Linked DNA regions of Homo sapiens: region 1 is linked to region 2. Evidence: promoter capture Hi-C in human tissues and cell types (Jung and others, 2019). All regions are on one chromosome and are shown on one strand. The core of a region is centred on a gene start or on the middle of the fragment in contact, and the rest is flanking DNA. Distances in the headings are between cores, read along the strand shown. Region 1 overlaps LOC107986832 (a long non-coding RNA gene). Region 2 holds the start of MYL10 (myosin light chain 10).

Region 1 (6,072 bases), core at 1,202-3,701, 38 kb before region 2:
AAGAATCTGAAAGGAGGCACCACATAAAATGACTCTTTTTTTTTTTTTAAGTAAAAAGTCAACAGTTCCGTGATCTTTGTAAAAATTAATCAGGAACACATGCGTTCTATTTTTCGTAAATTGCAAGGGATCAAAAGGAAAGGAAAATGCTCTTAGGGTGAAAGACAATGGGAGTTCCATCACCAGCTGGAACACTCCACACACTGTCTTGGAGTTGGGGGGCCTTCCCTGCACCCGGCGTCCTGGTGTGCCTCCCTGGAGAGAGAGCATGGGCTGGGCACGAGATATGGGGTGGGCTTAGATACGACCCAGACCTGAGATGCTCCCAGACAGGAGCAGGGGACCAGGCCCAGCAGGGGGCAATGACAATCTCTGGAGGGACAGTCCAGGGCCGAGGGAACCCAGAGAAGGCCTCTAAGTGTCTCAGACACAGGAGGAGGAACAATTGGAGAGGAGACCAAATGGGTGGGCTGGGGATGTATTAAGACTGTCTTTTTTTTTTTTTTTTTTTTTTTTTTGAGACAGGGCCTCTTTCTGTCACCCAGGCTGGAGTGCAGTAGCACGATCTCAGCTCACTGCAACCTCTGACTCCTGGGTTCAAGCAATTCTCCTGCCTCAGCCTGAGACTGTCTAGAATGTACAGCTAATGAATCTCTATTTTTCTCTTGTACTTTTCTCCCTTACTATCTGAGGATGGGGGCACAATGGCAAAAGCCCTGGGCACAGAAAATCAATCCAGCTTTTCTCTTACAGTGAGGCCAATCCCATACTTTGTAGGGTTTTTCATTTTTTTTTTTCTTTTTGAGATGGACTCTCGCTCTGTCACCCAGGTTGGAGTGCAGTGGCACGATCTCGGCTCACTGCAACCTCTGCCTCCTGGGTTCCAGCTGTTCTCCTGCTTCAGCCTCCTGAGTAGCTGAGATTACAGGCATGCGCCACCACGCCCTGCTAATTTTTGCATTTTTAGTAGAAATGGGATTTCACCATGTTGGCCAGGCTGGTGTCAAACTTCTGGCCTCAAGGGATCAGCCCGCCTCAGCCTCCCAAAGTGCTGGGATTGCAGGCGTGAGCCACCATGCCCAGCCCCAATCCCATCCTTTGAACCTCAATGCCCTCATCTGTAAAATGGAGATCATAATGAGCCCTACTTCCCCCAGGGGAGCTATGGACAGGTTCACGCTCTCCGGGGCCTCTCTCACACTGGCCTTCCCCTTGCCGGCCTCCCCTGGGTCTATCTGCTGTGGGGGCTGCAGTCACTCATGGGCAGGAGAGGTGAGGAAATGCAGTTGCACAGGCCTAGACCCAGCTGATGCCCTGTGTGTCCAAAGCCCAGTGGGGCCTGGGCTTCTGGTGGCCAGGACGCCCCTATGTCCAACCCAGGGTGGAGAAAGAGGCCAGGAGGACATGGTACTCTGAAGGCCTTTTGTGTGGCATCCTCAAGGAACCAGATCCAGGGCTCCTCCTGCACCCTGAGCCCCACCACGGGACCAGAGCAGCACCCAGCCTGCCGCCAGCCACCCCCGCGGTGGCCTGGTGCCAGCCCTGCAGGCGGGCAGTGAGATAATCCGGCTAGACGGGCTGCCATCTTGGCACGTCCCAAGACGCCCGAGGCCACGGGGAGCTTCAAAAGGAAAATTAATGTCTCTTACCAGCAATTAGAGGAAATTATTCAGATAGAAATCTTGTTTTCTATCTCCTCATCCTTGTTTTTGAATCCCCAGCCTTTGATTTCTTTCTTCTCTGGGGATTCTCAGAAAGACACTCTGAGAGCCTGGGCTGTGCACTGAGGCCTAATGAGGGCCTGGCACACCTGGCATCACAGCCTCGCCCGGGGTAGTCGGCTTCTGAGGCCTGTGCCTCCTGAACCCAGCCCTGAGGTCTTCCAAAGAGGCTGGCGGGCCCTTGGCAGCTGAGGGCAGCTCTCCCGAGGTGGGTGGGCCTCTGCTGGGGCTGGCTCCCCCTGATGCCCAAGGGAGGTGGCACCGGGCTACAGGCGGACGTCATGCACCTGGGGTGAAGGGGTGCTGAGGGCACTCTTGGGTGGAGGAGAGGCCCAAGGGGTGGACTCAGTGGGAACTGACACCCTTCCTGTCTCAGCGGGGACCCCTCATGCTCTCCGCCCGTCAGTCTTTCCCCACTGCCTCAGATGCAGCCTCAACTTCCCAATCTGGCGCTCAAAGCCCTGCAGATCTATCCTCGTCAGCTTCCCTGGCCCTTCCCCCCATCCCCTCCTCTAAATGTCCCCCGCTCCACTTGCCCAGGGTGCTGGGCTTATTCCAGACAGGAGCTCAGCCGCCATGACCCACGGTGGCACACACCCTGACCTGACGTAAATGACCTTCTTCTCTTTTTCTATCTGGCAGACTCCTGCACCTCCTCAGGTGGCCCAGCCCTGCCTCACCTTCTCAGGGATGCTGGCTTGGACCCCACCCAAGAGAACAGTTGGCATCTCCATCACCTAGCCCAGGCCACTGTCCTGAGCTAATCAGGAGCTACTCATGGGCTCTCTTCCCTAGAAACTCCTCGAAGCCAGGGAGAAGGGCGGCTTCATCTCCAGGTTCCCAGCACCAGGTGGCCCAGAATGGGCTTTAATAAGCTCCTGCTTGAATGAGTGACACCCAATGATAATGATGGTTTGAATAAATAAAAGAATGAAAGAATGAATGGGACTGATTAGAAGAGGCACCAGGAACAAGGTGTCAAGAGACTAATCTTGAATCATGATTCAGTCACTTCCTCCCTGTGTGACATGGAGCAAGTTGCTTTACCTCTCTGGGCTTCATTTTTCAGTTCTGTAGAATGGGATTAATAGTTTTAGCCCTGCCTTCAAAACAGTTGTGTGGCTAAAACAAAATAAAGGTGTTGCCAGGCATGGTGGCTCACATCTGTAATCCCAGCACTTTGGGATGACGAGGTGGGTGGATCATTTGAGGTCAGAAGTTCGAGACCAGCCTGGCCAACATGGTGAAACCCTGTCTCTACTAAAAATACAAAAATTATCTGGGCATGGTGGCGGGCGCCTGTAATCCCAGCTACTCAGGAGGCTGAGGCAGGAGAATTGTTGAGCCCAGGAGGTGGAGGTTGCAGTGAGCTGAGATGGCACTACTGTATTCCAGCCTGGGTGACAGAAGGAGACTTAATCTCTAAATAAATAAAGAAATAAATAAAGGGGTTGAGCATGCAATTATATTAAAATTACATGTACCACTCATCCCTCCCTCCATCCATCCATCCATCTACTCATTCATCCAATTATCAATTCATCCATCCATCCACTCATCCATCCACCCGTCTATTCATCTATTCACCCATCCACCATCCATCCACTCATTCATCCATCCACGCACTCACACAGTCATTCACCCCCTCACCCATCTAGGTATCCATCCAATTATCCACCCATCCATCCATTCATCCATCCATTCACTCATTTATTTATCCATCCAATTATCCACCCATCCATCCATTCACTCATCTATTTATCCATCCAGTTATCCACACATCCATCCATTCATCCACCCATTTATTTATCCATCCAATTATCTATCCATCCATCATCCATCCATCCATCCATCCATCCATCCATCCATCCATCCTCTTGTCCATTCCTTTAACAACCACTCACTGAGACCTCCTGCATGCCAGGCCTGTGTTGAGGAATGGGGGACAGTGTGGGGTCAGAAGAAGTACCTGCCCAGGGAGAGGTCATCAGTGGCAGCAGAGAAGCCCAGACAGGAGCTAAAGGAAGGAGGCTGAGCATGCCATCTCAAGAGTGCAGCCCAGGCTGGGTGTGGTGGCTCACACCTGTAATCCCACCACTGTGGGAGGCTAAGGCAGGCAAATCGCTTGAGCCCAGGAGTTCGAGACCAGCCTAGGCAACGTGGTGAAACTGTCTTTAGAAAATATTAGCCAAGGCCGGGCACGGTGGCTCATGCCTGTAATCCCAGCACTTTGGGAGGCCGAGGTGGGCGGATCACCTGAGGTCAGGAGTTCGAGACCAGCCTGGCCAAAATGGTGAAACCCCGTCTCTACTAAAAATACGAAAATTAGATGAGTGTGGTGTCGTGCACTTGTAATCCCAGCTACTTGGGAGGCTGAGGCAGGAGAATCGCTTGAACCTGGGAGGTGGAGGTTGCAATGAGCCAAGATTATACCACTGCACTCCAGCCTGGGTGACAGCGCAAGACTCCGTCTCAAAAAAAAAACAAAACAAAACAACAACAACAAAAAAAAAAACAAAAAGAAAAGAAAAGAAAGAAAGGAAAAGAAAAAATTAGGCAAGCGTGATGGCGCATGTCTGTAGTCCCAGCTACTCGGGAGGCTGAGGCAGGAGGATCACTTGACCCCGGGAAGCAGAAGCTGAAGTGAGCCCAGATCACACCACTGCACTCCAGTCTGGGTAATAGAGTGAGACCCTGTCTCAAAAACAAAACAAAACCAAAAAAGAGTACTACCCAAATCTCTGCTTCCCACCGCCTCAAATGCACCTGCTCTTGTCATGCTCAGCCGGCTTCAGAAACCCTAGGAGGCCAGGAACACTTCTGCCAGGGGTCCAGTTGGGAGGACACCTGGAGAACCTGGAGGTGGAGGTAAAGAGGAAGGGAAAACCAGACACAGAGAGGTGAAGAAATATGCCCCCAACTACTGTTGAATTGGGATGTGAGTCCTGAGCCACATTCTTAACCAGGTCCACATCCTGGATCAAATGGGCCCTCAAGTCCAGTGCTTGGAAAGCCTCCAATAAGTGGCTGGCCAGCATCTGTTACATACTTCCCCTGACGAGACACTCACTACCTTTCCAGGCTAGTGAGGCTCATCTGTGTACGGCTCTGACTGTGAAAAGCTCTTTCTTGGATAGAGGATCCACATTGGCCCTGGCTCGGCGCACTGGACCCTGTATTCCTGCTGGCCTGGAATGTCCGTGCAGAAACTTGAAGACAGTGGTGTGTCTCTGAGCCTTCTCTTTCCCAACATGGGTACTCTTCCCTGCTCCCCCCAAGTCCTTTCACCTCCCAGCTGTCCGTCTGGCACAGAAGATCAAGTGCATTGTTGAGACCACAAGGGAGGGGAGGCAGCTTAGGAGATCAGGAAAAAAACTTATGACACTAATTTAGGGTCTTAGCCTCACTCTTGGCCTTATCCTGTGTTTTCTAGACATTAACTTTCGTCAGCCCCCAAATCTTGATTTAATCATTCCATCTTAATGTATTGTCTTCATTGCTATAAAATGCCTTGATTCCTTTTGGGGAGTAGAGATAAGTAATAAATAAAGGTACCAGTTAACCCCCCCTAAGTTTTGGGGGATGATCACATCTGGGTCCTTTCTCTCTTGCCTGCTTCAAGAAACAATTGTTAATTCTTTTAGTAAGTTTCAGGCCAGTTGATGTAATGACAATATCTTGAAATCAACCATCGTGGCCAGGCATGATGGCTCATGCCTGTAATCCCAGCACTTTGGGAGGCTGAGGTGGGTGGATCACATGAGGCCAGGAGTTCGAGACCAGCCTGGCCAACATGGCAAAACCCTATCTCTACTAAAAATACGAAAAATTAGCTGGGTGTCATGGTGCGCACCTGTAATCCCAGCTACTCGGGAGGCTGAGGCAGGAGAATCACTTGAACCCGGAATCTGGGAGGCGGAGGTTGCAGTGAGCTGAGATCACACCACTGCACTCCAACCTGGGTGACAGAATGAGACTCTGTCTCAAAAAAAAAAAAAAATCAACCACAGTGAGGGTCTTTACACCATGAGAATTGGCAAACGCTACCAGTCAGGGCTTTCCCCACTACATTTTCCAGCACACAACTGAATATGCCTCTCATCTTTCTTCTCCCCATAGAGCAGTCAAGTGAGGAGGACTGCCTGATCCTAGAGACTCTGATCCTCCCAAGACGCAGACCAGGGCTCTATTCTCACAGGACTTTCCCCTCAAGTGACTCTCCTCTGTGCACACATGCTGTCTTACTCTGTATTCTTTTAGGAGCCACAGGGCTTCAAGCATGCACCCATTCATTCAACATATGTTCAACACCACTATCTGGCAGGCCCCAGGCTGGGGACTTGTGACTGGG
Region 2 (6,507 bases), core at 3,345-5,844:
CCTCTTGCCCTGTCCCAGAGCTGCTACTCCCTCTCACCCAGGCCCTCTACTCTGTCCCAGAGCTGCCTTCCCTCCCAGCGTTTGCCCCTGCCTGGAATGCGTTGCTCTGTTGGAATTCCCTGCTTGGAATGCCTTCCCTGGAGAATCTATCTAGAGACTCCTACCCATCCTGCAGGCTCAGCTCCCTGTCACCTCCTCCGAGAAGCCTTCCCTGACCCCAGGCCACTCTCCCCTCCCCACATGGCTCCACTGTGGACTGTCACCCCTACAGCATGTATCACACTGTCCTGACATATCTGTGCGTCTGTGTCCTCGACTAAGTGGACATCTCAGGGGTAAAACCCACTTTGCCCCATCTCTGATCTCTCCTATCCCCACCCTGAACCTGGCTCAAAGTGGGGATCAGCCAGTGCTTGGAAATAGCTGCCCAGAACTCAGGGCCAACCCACGCAGCAGGCAAAGCAGGAGGCCACCCACGTTGAGTAGTCAGATGGTTTCTGGCCAGCCTTCCTGCCTCTGTGATGTCAGGGTGTCTGGAAGTCCACCATTGGGCATTTGCTGAAAGCCCTAGGTCCCCAAGACCCTCAAGAGTCCTGTTCCTGGGCAGCCATCCTTACAGCCCCCAGGGGCGCTGTGAGCCCCAGAATGGGCTCTCGATGGGGGAAAAGAATTGCTGGATTCCAGACGGGGAGGTGGACGGGATGGCACAGAAATGGGTTCCCACCACCAGCTCCTGTCTCCGTCACAACTTGTACCACCCTCTCCTGCCAAGCCCTTGTCTACCTGCCCCCACCAGAGCAGAGGAGTCCCCTCATCCCCTGCTCCCCTCCCCCAACGCCTGTGTGGTCTCCCCTGCCCCCAGCTCACTGCTGTCCCCACCCCCGCCCAGGAGCCCGCGTCGTCGAGGGCAGGGGCAGAAGCGCCGGCTGACTTATAATTAGCTTTTACTGGGTGCTCTGTCTCTCCTAATCCTTTGAAAGGGGGCTGCCAGGGCGGCCGGGACGTTATGATGCTGTAAAACCTCTGTAATATTTATAAATCCTTTCAGACATCATAAAGAAAAGAACTTCCCCACAGAGTTCATCCCACATAATTACATATACATTTCCTCCGATTAATAAAAAATGATCACTTCCGTCTGTGGGAGGTTCTGCCCTTTCTCTGGCACACCTGGCTGTGGCCTCGGCGTCCTCAGTCCCTGCCCCCCACGCCCCCAGCCTCTCATGATCCCCCTGGTTACACCCCCACCCTACACTGTCCCAGAGCTCCACGAGGGAGGGAGAGATCATTTTCTTTACAGCACAAGAGTCCTAAACCCTAGGGTCTTTGCAGCCCAGCTGTCTTGAAAATTCCTTTTGAGAATGGGCCCCTGAAAAATAAAATTCCCCTGAAAGGAACATCTCAGGGAAGAAGGGGGGGTCACCCGGATCTGGGTTCAAAGCCTGGCTTGGCTGCTCCCAGCCTCCGTGATGTTAAGAAATTCACTTGTCTTCTCTGAGCCTGTTTCCCCATTTATAAAACCTAGAGCAGGTCAACCTCAAAGCATCAGGACATGTATTAGACACCTACGGACCTCCAGGCAGGTCCGTCCTGGGGACCCAGGGCTGAATCAGGCCCCGTCTTGGTCCCCAAGAAGATCACAGTCCCGCTGGTGACAGGCAGTCCATAGAGGCTGACTCGGAGGAGGGACAAGCGCTGAGAAGACAAGACAGAGAAGCCCCTAGGCCCTCGGGCAGTCAGGAGGTGACAAGCCGAGGCTGACAGCCAAGTCAGAGCTCTGTGCCGAGAGGGACTAACTAATGAGGCAGGTGAGACACAGGCACAGAGGGACAGCCAGATTGATACCCCGCAGGGAGTCCCCAGGGGCAGGAACCCAGAGCAAGCCCTGCGTCACATGAGGTGCACAGGCAAAGGTGAACAGGGGGACCTCGGAGCTCCAGAGGTGCCACGCTGCCCCAAATACTGACCCCCGGCCCTCCCAGGGGGCCCCTGCCCTCAGAGCCACTGCCCCTGTGAAGCCCCCAGGCCCTGCCCACCTCGTCTCTCTCCACCCTCCTCTTCCTCATTCCCCAGCAGTCCCCACAAAGTCCAGGAAAGCAGAGGCTCAAATCAGGACCCACGTGGAGAGGAGTCCCGAGTGGGGCAGGTCCAAGCATGGGATCAAGAGCAAAGAGCAGGTCAGACCAGGGACAACATCAGATTAAGGTCAGGAAGGTCAGTGAGAGGCAGGATGAATTCAGGCAGGAGGTGAAGGTCAGAATCACACACAGAGTCAAGGTCACAGAACAAGGTCAAAGTTGAGAAATGAGGCCGGGCGCTGTGGCTCACGCCTGTAATCCCAGCACTCTGGGAGGCCGAAGCGGGTGAATCACTTGAGGTCAGGAGTTCGAGACCAACCTGGACAACATGGTGAAACCCCGTCTCTACCAAAAATACAAAAAAAAAAAAATAGCCATGTGTGGTGGCGGGCGCCTGTAATCCCAGTTACTCGGGAGGCTGAGACAGGAACCTCACTCGAAGCCAGGAGGTGGAGGTTGCAGTGAGCCGAGATCGAGCCACCGCACTCCAACCTGGGCAACAGAGTGAGATTCTGTCTAAAAAAGAAAAGGAATTGCGGAGTGAGGTCAGGGGCAGGGGCAGGGGCAGGGGCAGGGGTGGGAGGGAGGGGACCGCAGTGCTGAAGCCAAAGACACAACAGCCACAGGCCTGAGCTCCCCAGGGAGGAGGTGGAGGTGAGAGGAAGGTAGCCGTGGCAGAGCAGAACAACCCCAGCCTACCATGGTCTGGAGAGCTCCCTGAAGCTGCAGTTGGCCTGGGGATAGCTCAGAGATGGCCCTTAAATAGTGGTCCTCCCAGGGCCCCTGGCATGCACCGGGCCCAGTGTGGAAGGTGATCCATGACAGGACGGAGACCTCCCTGCCAGGCACCTGCCTTGGGCCATTCAGAGTGGATAGGGTTGGGGGGAATCCGTGGGCAAATACCACGGACGCAGGGACTGCCTAAGCCTCCAGGATCTCCGAGAGCCCTGGGCCAACTGTTTTCTCTAGAGCCAAGGGACCAAGACCCAGGAAGGGGCATTTGGCCAAGGACACAGAGTAAGTTGAGGCTGCCTACCCCAATGGGAAGACTTGGCCTTGAGCCGTCAGGGAGTGTTGCCCAGGGTGGGGCCACCCATGCTGGCTGGGACCCACTCAGACTGCAGTGTGGCCGGACCTCTGGAGCTGTGGGACTCTGGGTGGGACATCACCCTCTAGGAGGCTCAGCCATCTCATAGGAATAGGGGGGAGTGTATGAAACCCCCGGTCTGCTTATGGAGAGAGTTTCTGCACCAACCTGGCCCTCGGGGGCCCCTTCTACCAATATGCCTATTATCAGGGTGTCCATTAAGCACCCCCAGGCCAGGGGACCCCCTCAGGGCACTGAAATGCTCAATGAACAGAGAAAGCAACAGGACAAATAAAAGAAAAATGGGGTGGGCGCAGTGGCTCACGCCTGTAATCCCAGAGCTTTCGGAGGCCAAGAGGGAAGGATCGCTTCAGGCCAGGAGTTCAAGACCAGCCTGGGCAACATAGTGAGACCCCTATCTCTACAAAATATCAAAAAAATTAGCCGAGCATGGTGGTGTGCTCTTGTAGTCCCACCTACTCAGGAGGCTGAGGCAGGAGGATTGCTTGAGTCCAGGAGTTTGAGGCTGCAGTGATCTATGATTGTGCCACTGCACTCCAGCCTGGGCGACAGAGTGAGATATTGTCTCTTAAAAAAAAGAAAACAGAAAACTGGAGGTGACTCTGATGAGGAAGAACTGAAAAATGAGACCTCCATTCCACCCTGGCCTCACACACACACATCCATCCCCACCAGGCCTGGCCCAGCCCAAGAATTCTCTAGTAGATCTGCCAAACAGAGCCCACACCTGCCCTGGAAAGCCCCTCCTGTGTCTAGTGCAGCCCCAGCAGCCCCAGCTCGGCCTCAGAGGCTGCCACTGTCCATCTGGGGCCCGCCATATCTGAACAGCTGCCAGGGCCGGCAGTGCTGGGTTCAGGCAGTGAGCCCACGGGTCCCCAGGGGCTGGAGAGCTTAACTGTCCCTGGAGCTGGCCTCAGGCCTTCAGCCCCGGGTACAGCTGATCCCCTGCCTTTGGGGAAGGGAATATCATAATAATAATAAGAAGAGCAGCTAATATACAACACAGAAGGTCAGGCCATGTCTTAAAACACGTGTCCTCACATTCAATCCATATCCCATTTTCCAGATGAGGAAACTGAGGCACGCATGGGTTAAGTCACTCACCCAAGGCAGATAAGAAGTGGGGCCAGAGGCCAGGCACAGTGGCTCATACCTGTAATCCCAGCACTTTGGGAGGCCGAGGAGGGAGGATCACTTGAGGCCAGGAGTTTGAGACCAGCCTAAGCAACATGGTGAAACTCTGTTTCTACAAAAAAATTTTTTTTAATTAAAAAATTAGTCAGGCATAGTGGTGAAGTGAAAAAGTTCCCTTATCCCGTTCATAGGGCATGCGATGGGGGTGTGGCTCGCTTCTTCCATGCCCAGCTGCTCAAACCTCTAGGCGGACCATGCAGACAGGCAGGCTATGGGGCTCCGACCCCACGGCAGTGTCTAGGGGTGGATGCTTACAGCTCCTGAAGCCCCAGTGGGCGTGTGTTACAGGATGCTCTTTTACTTTTGCCATCTGTAGGTGGCTTGTGTTCATCAGCTCAGTTAGACCCTCTGCCTTATTGCAAGGACAAAGGGCTTTTTGTATCCTGGGGTTCTTGCCTTGGTGTACTGTGAAAATTGAATCACATGTGGGCTTGGAGAATGAGTGCGAGGTTTTATTGAGTGGTGGAAGTAGCTCTCAGCAGATGATGGGGAGCCAGAAGGGGGATGGAGTGGGAAGGTGATTTTTCCCCTGAAGTCAAGGTGCTCAGCAGCCAGACTCTCCTCTGACCATCCCCAGCCAAATTCCCCTGGGCATTTGTGTTATTCAGCCAGTCGATGGCCTGCCAGCATCTGCCAGTGCTGTCGGTGTGCTCTTCCGATCCTCTGCTCCTCTTGATGTCCAGCCACCTGTGTGTGTACCCACTGGGGTCTCAGGGTTTTCATAGGCACAGGATGGGCGGGGGGGCGGGGGGCGTGGTGGGCCAGGGTGGTCTTGGAAAATGTGACATTTGGGCATATAAACAGGAGTGCCTGTCCTCACCTAGGTCCGTGGGCACAGGCCCAAGGGTGGAGCCCTTGCCAGGGACCCTGCCTTTCTCCTCTCAGCACTTCCCTGTCCCCCCTCCTGTATCAGTGGCACATGCCTGCAGGCCCAGCTACTTAGGAGGCTGAGGTGGGAGGATCACATGAGCCCAGGAGGTTGAGGCTTCAATGAGCTGTGATTGCACCACTGCACTCCAGCCTGGACAACAGATCAAGGTCTCATTTCTAAAACAAAAAAAAAAAAAAAAAAAAAGAGAGAGAGAGAGGGAGGGCCAGGACAAGAGCCCCTCTTTCTAGTGTTTCCAGAAGGAAGCTTCCAAAAGGTTCTGCTCATCCAAACTCTCCCCTCCTCCTGCTCCCTCCCAGTCATCCCTGACTACAGCTATTTCTGATGTCCCTAAACTCCTGTGACTGAGTGCTCCTCCCAGAGCTGGGGCCAGGTCCAGCCATGATGCTGTGCAGCCCGCTTTCTGCAGCAGGAAACCGTGTGCCTCAGTTTCCCCGACAGGGCTGCTCTCCTGGTGTCCTGGCGTTCCTCTCCGGGGAGAAAAACCACACGTTCCACAGGTGTTCAACAAGCCAGGCGGAAAGGAGAACCCAGCTCTGGGGACGGGAGCCTGGATTCCAGTCCCAGCCGCCTGGACCTGCTACAGAAGGGGGCCTGTGTGACCGCGACAGTGGCTAGGGTGCAGGCTTTCCATGCCCGGTCTGTGAGCCTGGCCCTGGGGCCTCCTGGCTCTGGGCTTACAGAGTGGGTAGCAGACCTATAACTCCTGCTTCCTGCCTCTGGCTTCCTGCTGCCCTGAGGCCTCTGCAAGCAAGGGCTCTTGCCTCCGGGGAGCACGCCCAGGACCGTGGCAGGGGCTCCCAAAGGCCGGGGACAGGCCTGAGCAAGCGGAGAGCCCCCCCGCCTGCCCGGAGGAGGGGAAGCGGCGCTGGTGAATCACACCGGGCTTACAAATTAGTCTGAGTGGATTTCCTCCCCTGGCCTCCTCCTTCATAGGACCGGAGGCAGGAAGAACCGGTGAGAAATCTGGTAGAGACGTGAAAACCCCGGGGTGAGATGGTTGGGAGATGTTTGTTCCTGGGGGGCGGGAAGTGTGAGGGTGCAGTGGCCTTGAGAAGGGGGAGCCGTGAGTTCTGCACCCACAGTGGGACCCTCAGTTTTCCCCATCTGAGAAATGGTGCCAGCAGCCAGGACCCCTTGAGGCTGCCATCGGGAAGCTTAGTGCCATTGGAAGGAGGTGGGCTTTGGGGTCATCGGCCTGGGGTTTGGAGGGCAGAGCCTTCCCCTGTCCCCCTTTC

The links. Contacts are between HindIII fragments. The study calls those that stand out against the background at their distance.
Region 1: a contact is called between a fragment that was not itself captured here and the fragment with the promoter of MYL10 in region 2, in 2 of the 25 tissues and cell types used here (spleen and thymus).

The regions. Positions count from the first base shown.
Region 1 is chr7:101,588,904-101,594,975 of GRCh38, forward strand. LOC107986832 (a long non-coding RNA gene) reads left to right here. Exons shown (of 3, transcript XR_001745314.2): 3 at 2,364-2,872. Among named protein-coding and RNA genes, the nearest start is that of LINC01007, 23 kb to the left of the region's middle. The HindIII fragment of the contact is 9,953 bases long and covers 1-6,072 here.
Region 2 is chr7:101,624,702-101,631,208 of GRCh38, forward strand. MYL10 (myosin light chain 10) reads right to left here and starts at 4,595. Exons shown (of 8, transcript NM_138403.5): 1 at 4,340-4,595. The coding sequence starts at 4,417. RefSeq lists an enhancer at 1-138. The HindIII fragment of the contact is 21,528 bases long and covers 1-5,970 here.